Linked DNA regions of Homo sapiens: all the other regions are linked to region 2. The links are contacts of gene promoters, found by promoter capture Hi-C in human tissues and cell types (Jung and others, 2019). All regions are on one chromosome and are shown on one strand. Each heading gives the region's core, a stretch centred on a gene start or on the middle of the fragment in contact. The rest is flanking DNA. Distances are from core to core; before and after follow the strand shown.

Region 1 (3,261 bases), core at 301-2,800, 460 kb after region 2:
CAAGGAAATTGAATACCTGAAGAAGGCCCTAATAATCTTGTTGCTCTCACTTCCTTTGCTTATGTTTAGTTGAGGGAGTTTACGGTGACGCTTCAATTTTCTTCCTCTCTTTAAAGAAGTACTTTTTGAATTAATAATATTTAGTGACCTTAGTCCTAAGTTTTAGTAAAAATCGAGGAAAGTTTTGGGAAATAGTTAAATAATTTGACCCGAGAAAAGCATGTGTAAAAGCTACCAATATAAAACAAATGAGTTGGAAGTCAGAATAATGTTCACCTTTGGGGCGAAAGGTGGGCAGGGATTTGGGAGAGGCAGTGGAGGCATCTAGTGTGCTGGAAACTTTCAGATTTTTCAACTCTGTTGATAAACAGGTGTGTTCATTTTTTGTGAATTCACTATTGTGATTTATGCACATTAATATTTTAAATATTTGAGTTAAAAAATTTTTTGAAACGCTAATTCAGTGTAGTATAGTATATAACATTAATACAGAGTTGAAATATGGTCTGAAATTGTTAAAAATTGAATGGGATAACATTTTTCACTTTAGACTTGGTAAAATTTGGTTAAAATCGATAAAAGTAATCTATTCATAAAAAATTCTGATTTTGTGGAACATGGAAGATGAAACCATGATTATCTCTAGAATAAAATTGAAAGGCAAAGAAAGGAATTGTTTAGCATTTCAATCAGAAATTTAGTCTTTGTGGGTATATTGAAATTTTAGGGATTATTTTCATGACCTGTAAGGGCCAAAAAGAAAGATCATTTGCTTGTAGATGGTAGAAGTCAAATATGTTGATAGTATAGTACTAATTTGTCTTAATTTTTTCTCCAATATGTGTAGCACTTTTTCAAACAACTTTCTTATCGGATATGCTTGTTACTTGAAAATAATTTTTAAAACTTGTGTTTCTTTTATAGCAGAAATTATAACTAGATGAGTGAAACATTCCTCTTGTGAATTGTTACACATAACATGGATTGAATTTTGGAAATGAATCTTTTTTTTTTTTTGAGACGGAATCTCGCTCCGTCGCCAGGCTGGAGTGCAGTGGCACAATCTTGGTTCACTGCAAACTCCGCCTCCTGCATTCAAGCCATTCTCCTGCCTCAGCCTCCCGAGTAGCTGGGACTACAGGCACCCGCCACCATCCTGGCTAGTTTTTTGTATTTTTAGTAGAGATGGGGTTTCACCGTGTTAGCCAGGATGGTCTCGATCTCCTGACCTTGTGATCCACCCGCCTCAGCCTCCCAAAGTGCTGGGATTACAGGCTTGAGCCACTGCGCCTGGCCAGATATGAATCTTTTATTGTAATTTAATTTGAACGAATTTTCTCCTATGTGCTTTTACTCAAAACTCATGCTTTTCCAGAGGAAAAAAGAGCTGATTCTAAACTTTTTAAGCACATTTTAAAACTACCACTGTGTGTGACTTAAAAAAAATTATCTAGTTATATCTTTAAAACAGGTCAATTTATATTTTGTAATTTAGACAACTATTTTTCATTTGATTATATATTAAAAGTACCATGTGATAAAATATTTACTTTTTGTTCCTAAATCCTCTGTAAGTCTCTTATCAATTATATTGAAATTATTTATGCTGTAATTGTTTAACTGTTGTGATTGACCATCCCTTAAATCATCTTTAAGAGTAGGTATAAAATCAAGCTATTCATATATAGCAAAACTGAAAGGTTATGAAGTTATATATCTAAGAAAATACATCCAGGCATATATTTGTGAGAATCTTCCCCATCTTCAATTCTCTCCCTCCTGCCCAGCGCAATCCTTTGTTTTTTATAGAAGCCTAAAGCCAGTTTGGAGAAATGTGACTACCTACGCCATCTGTATTTGGCTGAAGCACAAAGTAGGAGATGTGCAGGTGGCAAAAAACAAATATACTTTTTCTGTACTTAACACCCCTTCTCCATAGAGTCCTCACCTTGAAAGGTCACAGTGGGGAAGAAGGTAGAAAGAACTATCATTCCATATGTGGTTTCAGCCGCGTTCAAGCATCCTGAATCGTTAGGGGAAAAAGAGATGTACCAAGTGTGGTCGTGGTATTCTAGTAGAGAGAGGATTGACAGTTTTTCTCAACTGTGTTGCTGAGTAGAAACGGTGCGCTTCGATACCAGCTTGGCGGTTTGAAAAGCAAAATGGCTGTGTGCTTCTGACCTCAGAAGTATAGGTGATAGTAATATTTTCATTTTTTATTTTAGTTTGGTGAACAGTCACGAGTGCCTTCTGCATTTGCAGCTATTTACTCTAAAGGAGGTATTCCTTGCAGGTAAAATCAATATGATTTATAACTGACCAAATTATTCAAAATCATTGAGTAAAATGAATACAATATTTAGTTTAAATGTATTGTAAGTTTTATTTACTAGTGAGGTTGAAATAAAGATGACTTTATTCACACTTTCTTTTGGACTGGTATAGATTCCTGGATGTTGTTGAAGAAAACCATTCTAGTTCCAAAATACAGTTATTGGGATCTATGGATAAACCATCAGTTTAAGAACTTTACTTGAACCCTTTTTCTAAAATAATCAATTTAAGCATTTGCAGGCTTGGGCAAGTTGCAAATTAAAAAATCCTATCTTGTTGGTAAAATGAAAGTTGTCAATTTAATGAAATTGTTTATATTTCATAATAAATACATATGGCTGTTTTTGCTTCATTTTGGATATAATTCTTGCCACCTTTCTAGACAGATGTCAGAACTTTAAAAAAAAAATACTACAGATAATGTATCATTTTACAATTTATTTCTATAAAGCATTTATTTCTTCAGAGTTCATCCAGTTTTAGCCTGTTGTAGATGATAGAAAATTTTATTTTGATTATGGAAATAATCACAACATTTATTTATTTTTGTTCCAAAATTCAAGAAATCTAGTTTTTAATGGTATTTTCGGATTTGGAGTGAAAAATAAGCTCAAGAAATACTCTTCAGTTTATTGTTATTTCATATTTACATTCTGAATTGAAACCCTATTTAAAGTTTCTTAATTCTCTACTCCCCACCCCTCCAAAACTTATTGTTGCAAAAATGTAAAAACAATATTAGAGAGACGTCTTACTCTTATGAAAATAAGCCCAAAGGAGTCAAGAAGTCAAGAACATTACAAAGGAGTTCAAAGAAGCATTTAGGTTGATGGATTAAGTTCACTGTCATGATTGTGATGATAGTTCCTTGAGTGTATTCGTACATAAAAACATACCAAATTGTATACTGTAAATACATGCAGTTTA
Region 2 (3,030 bases), core at 311-2,810:
TCTTTTTTCTCCTCCTCAAGGAAGTTACATAACAGACCTTTAAGCTAAAATCTAGAAGGACAAATGAGTTAATAAATGTCAAATGTTTTTGAAGGTTTTAAAAGAATAGAGCAATATAAATCTGTGGCATTAAAATGAGTAATCCTAAGAGTTCCAATTCAGTTATCAGATGGTACCCTGCCTTTGGGCGTGTCCTCGAAAAGGCTTACGTTTTCCAAGGCAGGCAAAATGAGGTAAGTAGGGGTAGCCATTATGAAAGGACATCTTAGAAAATGTTAACCAGGAAAAACGTTAATGAGGATATTGCAGAGATTTTAGGTTGAGCATACTCTTGAGTTAAAGAAATCGGTTACTTATGAGGAAACCTATTATGTGGCAGGCATAGATGCTGGAAATACAAAGAGTTGGACAGGTCTTGCTTTCAAGGAAGCTTCTAATAATTATACAAATAACTACTACAATATGAGGCTGGTATTAGGCGGGGGCTTGCACAAATTCCAGGGAAAGCTTCTTAACGTGGAAATGGGAGGAAGAACAACAATATGATGCATATTAAATCCAAGAGAAGGAGCAGAGTCATTTAGATGTCATTTCAAACTTACAGTGACATTGGCTCTTGCTGGGGGGGAAAGGGGGGCGAGAGAGGCAGCCGTTGCCAGACATACGTCACACTAAAGAGACAAGATGAAACAAGGAAATTCTCTTTCAAAACATAGCGGGGAAAAAAATATCCAGAACTGCCCTGAAATAAAGAAAACCTTCTGGTATAATGTGCGTTGCTAGGGATTTATTTTTTCCCCTCCTTTCTCTCATAAGAGAGTAAAAAATCACACAGATACGTTCAAGCCCTTAAGAGTTTTGTGAGCCTATTGAATATCCAAGACATCAACTGACCACGGTGTGGTTCAGTGTGTGTCTACAAAGGAAGGGTTAAACGGAAGGGGGTGGCTTGGAGATAGAAAGGCAAGCAAGAAGGTTGGAAAATGCTGTTTTCCAACTTGCAAAAACTGAACTTTTCAGCTCCCCAAAATACACGTGTGTGTCTGTAAGCGCAGGCAGATCTATTTCGGTAGGATTTTTCTTAAATTTAAATCATAATTTCTCTGTTTCTGTCTCTCTGTCTCTTGCTGCGCTGCAAAGAGTGAGCAGCCCCCTTAAGGATCGCGTGGCAAAAGCTGCAGGAGAGGCACTGGCAGGGCTGTTTATTTATGAGCCGCGTTCAAAGCCGACCTCTTCCCATTCTCCCACTGCAAACGACTATCTCCGAGCCCAGGTCACCTCTGGGGCCAAGGAGTTGGGGGCTGGGGCTCGGGTGGCTCCTTCTTCGGGCCAAGTTTGCCCGCGCGTGGGAGCGAGGGGGCGAGCCAGGGCGCACGGGAACGCGCGCCGCCAGCCGCCGCCTCCGCCCAGCGCTGGCAGCCCCGGCCTCACCTCTCCCCTCTCCCCAGCGAGGTGCGGGCTCCCAGAGCGGAGCCAGGGGGCGGGCCTGGGCCTCGAGGGGCGGGGTCAGGGGGCGGAGGCTCGGGCGGCTATATAAGGCCCGCGCCGGCTCAACTTCGGACTTGGTGTTATTTATTTGGGAAGCGCCCGGACGGCGGAGCTTGGCGGCGGCGGTGGTGGTGGCTGCCGCAGACTGTGGTTAAAAAAAAGAAGGCGGCGGCGGCGGCGGCGGCGGAGGCGGAGGCAGCTGCGAGGCATGGGAGCGCCGAAGCGCCCAGGCGCAGGCCGAAGCTGCCGCGCTTTCTGGGCACGGCGGGAGTGCTGAGCAGAAAGGGGAGCGCCGGGGGCCCGCAGCCGGCTCCGGAGGCGCGGGCCGGGTTTTTGTTTGGCTACGCTGAGCGCCAGTCAGCCCCAGCGAACAACTCCAGTTACGACAACAACCCACCTTCCTTCCAGACAAGCGAGACTTGGGCTGCTGCGTCCGTCCTATTGTTTAGACACTTGCCAGGGGCTCCGGAGTCGGCAGAGCCACCGAGTCCCCGCTCTGAGTCGTCGCCCTCCCTCTCCCCGACCTCGCTCCCTGGAGCGGGAGGCCAGGAAAGCAGCGGGAGAGGGGAAGGGGCTAGAAGGAGAAGGACTACCCGGGACTGCGGCCGCCGCGTCAGGTGCAGCGCCAGGAGCCGGGCGGCGTCGCCACGCCGGCAGGGGTACCGCCACTGTGGCCTTGGGGGACGGAATTCAAAGCCTGGGAAAAGTTGCTGCACTTTGAGAAGGACGAACCACTAGTGGGAGACCGCCGGGGGCCGGCCGTGGCTCTGCGCCCTCCGGAACCCGGCTCTTGTTTCTTCTACCTTTGCCATCAGGTGTCTGCCGCGGAGCTGCGGCTTATCTGGGAGACGAGCGGGGTTGACACGCGCGCACACACTACTGCCATTCAGCTGCCGCCTGGCTCTGCCTGGAGTAGTGGATCCCACCCGCCCACCTGCCACCGAGCCATTCTCCAGTACGCCCCAGCAGGACGCTGACACCTCCAACCTTGGCCTTTGCCTTTCCACTCCTTCCGGTCTGCCTGGTTTTTAAGTCCGCCCCCAGTCAGTCCCCACTCAGTCTTCGCAGCAGCTCTCATCCTCCACTTGGCCTCTTGGAGTTCCTCGCCGGAGTGCTGACTAGTGGATATTTCTGCCCGGCTGCGGCGGCCCGACTGCCCTTTTGTCTTTTCTGCGTGACCTCGGGGCAGGTCCTGGTGCAGAGCGTCGCCAAGGACGCCGAGCGGGAGGCGGGATTGCCCAGACATCCTTCAGCGAAGTGCATGTGTGTTTGTAAACCATCGTTGGCTGTCGGGAGACCGCGAGGACCGGTCCAGGCTGCGGCGGAGTCGAGGGCGAGGGAGAGGCCGCGTGAGTGAGCAGAGTCCAGAGCCGTGCGCCCCCAGAACTGCGCGTCCGCCCCGTGCACCCCCGCGCGCCATGCCCAGTTGCCCCGCGCGCTCTGCTACGGGCCCGCTGGGCTTCCGCGCCTTCTAGCTTCCGGAGCCCACTTTGATCGGGGCCATAATACCTATTGAGATCCCCTCTTCTGTCTTGTACCTTC
Region 3 (3,213 bases), core at 57-2,556, 270 kb before region 2:
TGTGGCTGCACCAATTTACCTTCTCACCCCAGGGTATGAATGATTCAGTTTTATCCACATACTGTCCAGCATTTGGTATTGTCACTATTTTGTTTTTTTGATTTTACCCATTCTGATATGAATGCAGTGTTACCTCATTGGAGTTTTATTTTGCATTTCTTAAGGGCTCATAATGAAAAATATATTTTCATGTGCTTATTTACCACCTATATATCCTCTTCAGTGTCATGTCCCTTAATGACTTTTGCGTATATGCTAATTAGATTGATTTTTTTTTCCTTACTGAGGGTTTTGAGAGTTCTTATGTATTCTAGATACTAGCCCTACGTTGGATGTATGGTTTGCAAATACTTTCTCCAACTGTGTAGTATATTTTTTCATTCACTTAACAACTCTTTTGCAGTGCAAACGTTTTCAATTCTGATGAAGTACAATTTATCCTTTTTCCCTTTTATAGATGTTTTTGGTATTAAGATTTTGCCTAGCCCTAGATCCAAAAAGATTTCCCCGTATTTTTTCCTAAGAGTTTTATAATTTTACATTTTATACTTACATCTCTATTTCATTTTGACTTAATTTTTTAATACAGTATAAGACATCGATCAGGTTTTTTTTTTATTTCTCTGTTTTGTTTTGTTTTTGTTTTTGTTTTGCCTATGGAAGTTCACCTGTTCTAGCATCGGTTTTTGAAAAGGCGATTTTTCCTCTGTTAAACTGATCTCGTTCCTTTGGCACAAGTCAATTGGGTATATATGTTTGGACCTATTTCTGGGGTTCTCTATTGTATTCCATTGACCTATGAGCCTAATTCTCTGCCAATACCATACAGACCTGGTTATGGTATCTATATAAAATAGGTCTTGAAAGTGGGTAAAGCAATTTTTCCCACTTTCTTCATCTTTTTCAAACTTGTTTAGCTATTCCACTTCCTTAGCCTTTCAGTGTAAGTTGTAAGATAACCCTGTCTATATCCACAAAAAAATGCCATGATTTTGATAAGAATTGCACTAGACATGTATATCCCTTTGGGTAGACTTGGCATCTTTGCTATGTGAGTCTCACAATCCATACGTAAAGTTCATGTCTCTTCATTTTTCACAGATCTTTGATTTTTTAAATCAGTGTTTTATAGTTTGAAGCATACAAGACCTGCAAATGTTTGGCTATATTTAAAGCTAAGTATTTAATTTTAAAAATGTTTGCAAATGGTATTTCATTTTACATTTTTGTTTCTATGTGCTAATTTTTTATATATAGTGTGTGTGTGTGCGTATATATACACAATTGATTTTTGTGTTTATTTTGTTCTATCAACTTGCTAACCTTATTTATATGTTCTAGGAGGCTTTTTTGATAGATTTTGTAGAATTTTTTCATGTAAGATGATCATGTTATCTGCAAATAAAGGTAAATTTATATCTTTCATTCTGATCTGCATTCCTTTTATTTCTTTTCCTCACCTTATTGTGTCTACTAGAGTTTCCAGTACTATGTGAAATAAGAGGGTTGAGAGTGGATGTCCTTGCCTTCACTCTGATTCTACAGGGAAAACATTTAGTCTTTCACCGTTAAGAATCACATTAGCTGTAAGAATTTTTTTTTAATCAAGTTGAGGAAGTTCCTCTCTATTCCTGATAAGGTTTAGCTCTGTGTCCCCACCCAAATCTCATCTTGTAGCTCCCATAATTCCCACGCATTGTGGGAGGGACACAGTGGGAGATGATTGAATCATGGGGGAGGATCTTTCCCATGCTGTTCTCGTGACAATAAATGGGTCTCACATGATCTGATGGTTTTTAAAAAGGGAGACTCCATACAGGAGCTCTCTTTGCCTGCTGCCATCCACGTAAGAGGTGACTTGCTCCTCCTTGCTTTCCACCATGATTGTGAGGCCTCCCCAGCCACGTGGAACTGTAAGCCCAGTTACACCTCTTTCTTTTGTAAATTGCCCAGTCCTGGGTATGTCTTTATCAGCCGGGTGAAAACGGACTAATACAATTCCCTTTTCCCTAAGAGTTTTTCCTTATGTGTGTTAAAGCTTGTCAAATATTTTTTCAGCATAAATTCATATGAACATGCGATTTTTATTCTTTAAACTGTTAATATGATAGGTTACATTGCTTTTTAAAATGTTGAACCAGCCATAAATCTCTGGAATAAATCCACTTGATTATGGTGTATATTTTTTACATATTAATGTACATATTAATGAATTCTGTTGACTAAAATTTTCTTAGGGAGTTTATTTATGCATTCATGAATACATCCAGGTATACTCGTATTTATATTTGTCAGCAGTTTTGTTTTTTATTATTTTTCCTGGTTGATCATGCATAGCACAGAGTGTTATTAGCTTCATAAAATGAAGTGCTCTCTCATCTATTTTCTGGAGAAGATTGTGTATAATTGCTGTCATTGTTCTTTAAACATTTGCTAGAATTCAAGACTGAAGTTATCTGGGCTTACTAGATTTTTAACAGTTTTCTTTCAGCTACAGATTCGATTACTTTAATAGTTAAAGGCTACTATTGTATATTTGATGAGTTGCGAGTTTATATTTTTCAAGTAATTGTCAATTTTTCACATATTTGTTCAAAATATTTCCTTATTAACTTTTTGATGTCTGCAAGGTTATAGTTATATCCCCTGCTTTATTTTTGATAGTGTTAATTTGTGTCTGCTTTTATCTTTTTCTTGCTAGAAGTTAGTTGGTTTTATTAATATTTCCACAGAACAAAGTTTTTGTTTTCTTGTCTCTATTTTTTTTCTGATCTTAATTTTATTAATCTATGCTTTTTTTTAGTATTTTTTTTCTCAATTCTTTGGGTTTATTTTGCTCTTTTCTCTCAGTTTTTGAGGTGGATCCTAGATTATTGATTTAAACTTTTTCCATTAACGTATGCCTTTATTGCTCTAAATATATATATATATACACACACACACACACACACATATATATACACATATATGTGTGTGGGTCTATGGATTATGTGTGTGTGTGTGTGTGTGTGTGTGTGTGTGTGTGTGTGTGTATAGTTGCTGTTTTGTTTTTTTTTTTCTGAGACAGGGTCTAACTCTGTTGCCCAGGCTGAGTGCAGTGATGCGATCACACTCACTGCAGCCTTGACCTCCTCAGCTCAAGCAATCCTCCCACCTCAGCCTTCCAAGTACCTGGGACTGCAGCCATGCACCACCACACCTGGCTAGATTATG
Region 4 (3,042 bases), core at 515-3,014, 320 kb before region 2:
AGAAAATTCATATGCACATATGCATATAAGAACATTCTGAAGCTGGGCACAGTGGCTCATGCTTATAATCCCAGCACTTTGGGAGGCTGAGGCAGGAGGATCACTTGAAGCCAGGAGTTCAATACCAGCCTGGGCAACAAAGCAAGAGCACATTTGTACAAATCGTGTTTTAAAAAACAAGCCTGGTATAGCAGTGTGCACCTGTAGTCCCAGCTACTTAGGAGGCTGATGAGAGAGGATCACTTGAGCCAAGGACGTTGATGCTGCAGCGAGCTATGATCGTGGGAGTGCACTCCAGCCTGGGTGACACAGCGAGATCCTGTCTCAAGAAAAGAACATTCTGCGTAAATACTGGAGATTTCATGAACATAATTCTAACAGCTTGAGTTCCTCCTTTGTCCTGGCTCATGTGGGAATCTGGCTCTAGTAACTGCAATCCTGCCATGTTCTTCCATACTCAGGTTCCTACTTTCGGCACCTTTACTATAATCCAGATTCTCTCAATCGAGCATAGTCTTTTCTTCCTTCCTATAGAGACTGGAAAACAATCTCTGGAATAGAGTCTGGCTTCTCCAGAATTGTTAGTTTGCTTTCTGGGATTTCTCTTCATGACCGAAAGGCATCATTTTTCAACTGTGTAATTCCAGCAGCCTCCTAGCCCTTCTCTCCAATATCTCCTTATTCTGTTCTGTCATATTCTAAAACCAGATTCTCTTAATATTCATGAAGCACAGATTTGCAGATGACCCTTCTGTTATCAATCAGATTCTCCTGTCCTCTTGCCCATGGAAGAAGGCACATTGAACTCAATCATTATAAACATCCTCTACATAAACTCCATGTTCCAGAGAAAGTCTAGTCTTTGCTTGTCATTGAAGACAATGCTCATTTTCCTGCCTCAGTGGTTTCTGTCAACTAAAATGCTTTCTATCCCCTTTTCTGATTATCTCTGTCCAGGTGTTAAGGCCTGAATAAAATGCCCACTCTTCCATGGTATACAAGCAAGGGAAGTAATATGAGTTGAAATAAAAGTGGTTAAGAGGGAATGGAAAGTAAAGAATTCATGTAAGACCTATTTTAAAGGTAGAAGTAAATGTACTTAGTTTCTGATTTTAAATATGAGGATAATATTAAATATTAATAAAAACTACCAATTTGTAGCACTTACCCTGTATCTACCTCTACAAATTGTGTTCTACATGAATTAGTTATTTTATATAAATATCCTGGACAGGAAGTTGCTATTATTATCCTAGTATATAGATGAGAAAATAGATCCTTACAGATGTTAGTAAACTATTTAAGGTTTCACAGCTTCCAGAGTAAAGTTGACATTTTAATTCAGGTATGTCTAACCTATATTATGGTCTTAACCGTGAAGACATGACTTGGAGGCTTGTAGCCTGAGGGAACTGGTAAAAAATTGTGAGAGAAATAAGCAAAACAATTTTTCTTTTTAAAACATTTAACTTTGAAACATTTAAATAATATGTAGAAGGAGACATTCACCAGATAGTTGCAATCAGAGAAATGGAATTTGGAAAGGAATAATTAATACAGGTATTGATGGAGATTCCAAAAACAATTGAAACAAAAACAAAAATTGACAAATGGGACGTAATTATGGACCTTCTGCATAGAAAAAATCAACTATCAACAGAGTAAACAGGCAACCTACAGAATGGGAGAAAATATTTGCAAAATATGTATCTAACTAAGGTCTAACAGCCAGAATCTACAAGGGACATAAACAAATAAGCAAGCAAAGAAACAAAACAAACCAAAAAAATAAAAAATGGGCAGAGGATATGAACAGACGTTTCTCAAATGAAGATATATACACCATCAACAAGCATATGAGAAAATGTTCAATGTCACTCATCATTAGATAAATGTAAACCAAAACCACAATGAGATACCATCTTACACCAGTCGGAATGACTATTACTAAGTAGAAAATAACATTCTGGTGAGGCCGCAGAGAAAAGAGAGAGCTTATACACTGCAGGTGGGAATGTAAATTAGTTCAGCCACTGTGGGAAGCAGTTTGGAGATATCTCAAAGAACTTGAAACAGAACTACCATTCAACCCAAAAATCTCATTACTGGGTAAATACCCAAAAGAATATAAATCATTCTACCATAAAGGCACATGCACATGTATGTTCATTGCAGCACTATTCATAATAGCAGAGACATGGAGTCAACCTAGATGCCCATCAACAGTGGACTAGATAAAGAAGATGTGGTACAGATACACTATGGACTACTAGGAAGCCATAAAAAAAGAATGAAATTGTGTACTTTGCAGCAATGTGGATGGAAATGGAGGCCATTATCCCAAGCAAATTGGTGCAGGAACAGAAAACCAAATACTGCATGTTCTCACTTATAAGTGGGAGCTAATCATGGAGTACACATGAAACACAAAACAGGGCACACACAATAGACATCAAGGCCTGCTTGAGAGTGGAGGGTAGGAAAAAGTTGAGGTTAGAAAAACTACCAACAGGTACTATGCTCATCTCCTGAATGATGAAATAATCTGTACACCAAACCCCCATGACACACAATTTACCCATGTTACAAACCTGCACATGCATCCCCTGCACCTAAAATAAAAGTTGAAAAGAAAAAAAAAGTTATTTACTTGAAATGAAAGATAAAGTTTTAAGAGTAGGTGCAGTAACAAATGAGAGAACAATGAAGAAAAGAGAAGGAGGCCAAAGGCTAATATTCTGGAAAAACTTCCACGAATAATGATGAGGAAAAAATGGAAAAGGAAGACAGGAGAATTTCATGACAGATTCCAGGGCCAATAGTGTCATAATATGGAAGTATGTTGTAATACGGAAATGGTAATATGTTCCAATATGGAAAATAATTTGATGATCTAAGGTCAGAATATCTTGGAGGTCCCTGAACAAGAGTTACAGCGGAGCAGTAGCAGTTAAAGCCAGATGGGAAGAGATTAAGGAGTTATATACGGTAATACCTGGCTTGACGACGGGGATATGTTCTGAGAAAGGAGTCACTAGGTGA

Evidence for each region. Contacts are between HindIII fragments. The study calls those that stand out against the background at their distance.
Region 1: a fragment that was not itself captured here is called in contact with the fragment with the promoter of SLIT2 in region 2 in 1 of the 25 tissues and cell types used here (aorta).
Region 3: a contact is called between a fragment that was not itself captured here and the fragment with the promoter of SLIT2 in region 2, in 1 of the 25 tissues and cell types used here (IMR-90 fibroblasts).
Region 4: a contact is called between a fragment that was not itself captured here and the fragment with the promoter of SLIT2 in region 2, in 1 of the 25 tissues and cell types used here (heart left ventricle).

The regions. Positions count from the first base shown.
Region 1 is chr4:20,705,578-20,708,838 of GRCh38, forward strand. It overlaps PACRGL (parkin coregulated like), which reads left to right. Exons shown (of 9, transcript NM_001258345.3): 4 at 2,226-2,293. Among named protein-coding and RNA genes, the nearest start is that of PACRGL, 6.8 kb to the left of the region's middle. The HindIII fragment of the contact is 7,860 bases long and covers 1-3,261 here.
Region 2 is chr4:20,250,345-20,253,374 of GRCh38, forward strand. SLIT2 (slit guidance ligand 2) reads left to right here and starts at 1,561. Exons shown (of 37, transcript NM_004787.4): 1 at 1,561-3,030. RefSeq lists an enhancer at 2,677-3,030. The HindIII fragment of the contact is 10,378 bases long and covers 1-3,030 here.
Region 3 is chr4:19,984,292-19,987,504 of GRCh38, forward strand. No RefSeq gene overlaps it. Among named protein-coding and RNA genes, the nearest start is that of SLIT2, 270 kb to the right of the region's middle. The HindIII fragment of the contact is 6,823 bases long and covers 1-3,213 here.
Region 4 is chr4:19,928,994-19,932,035 of GRCh38, forward strand. All of the region lies in intron 3 of LOC105374511 (a long non-coding RNA gene), which reads left to right. Among named protein-coding and RNA genes, the nearest start is that of SLIT2, 320 kb to the right of the region's middle. The HindIII fragment of the contact is 6,007 bases long and covers 1-3,042 here.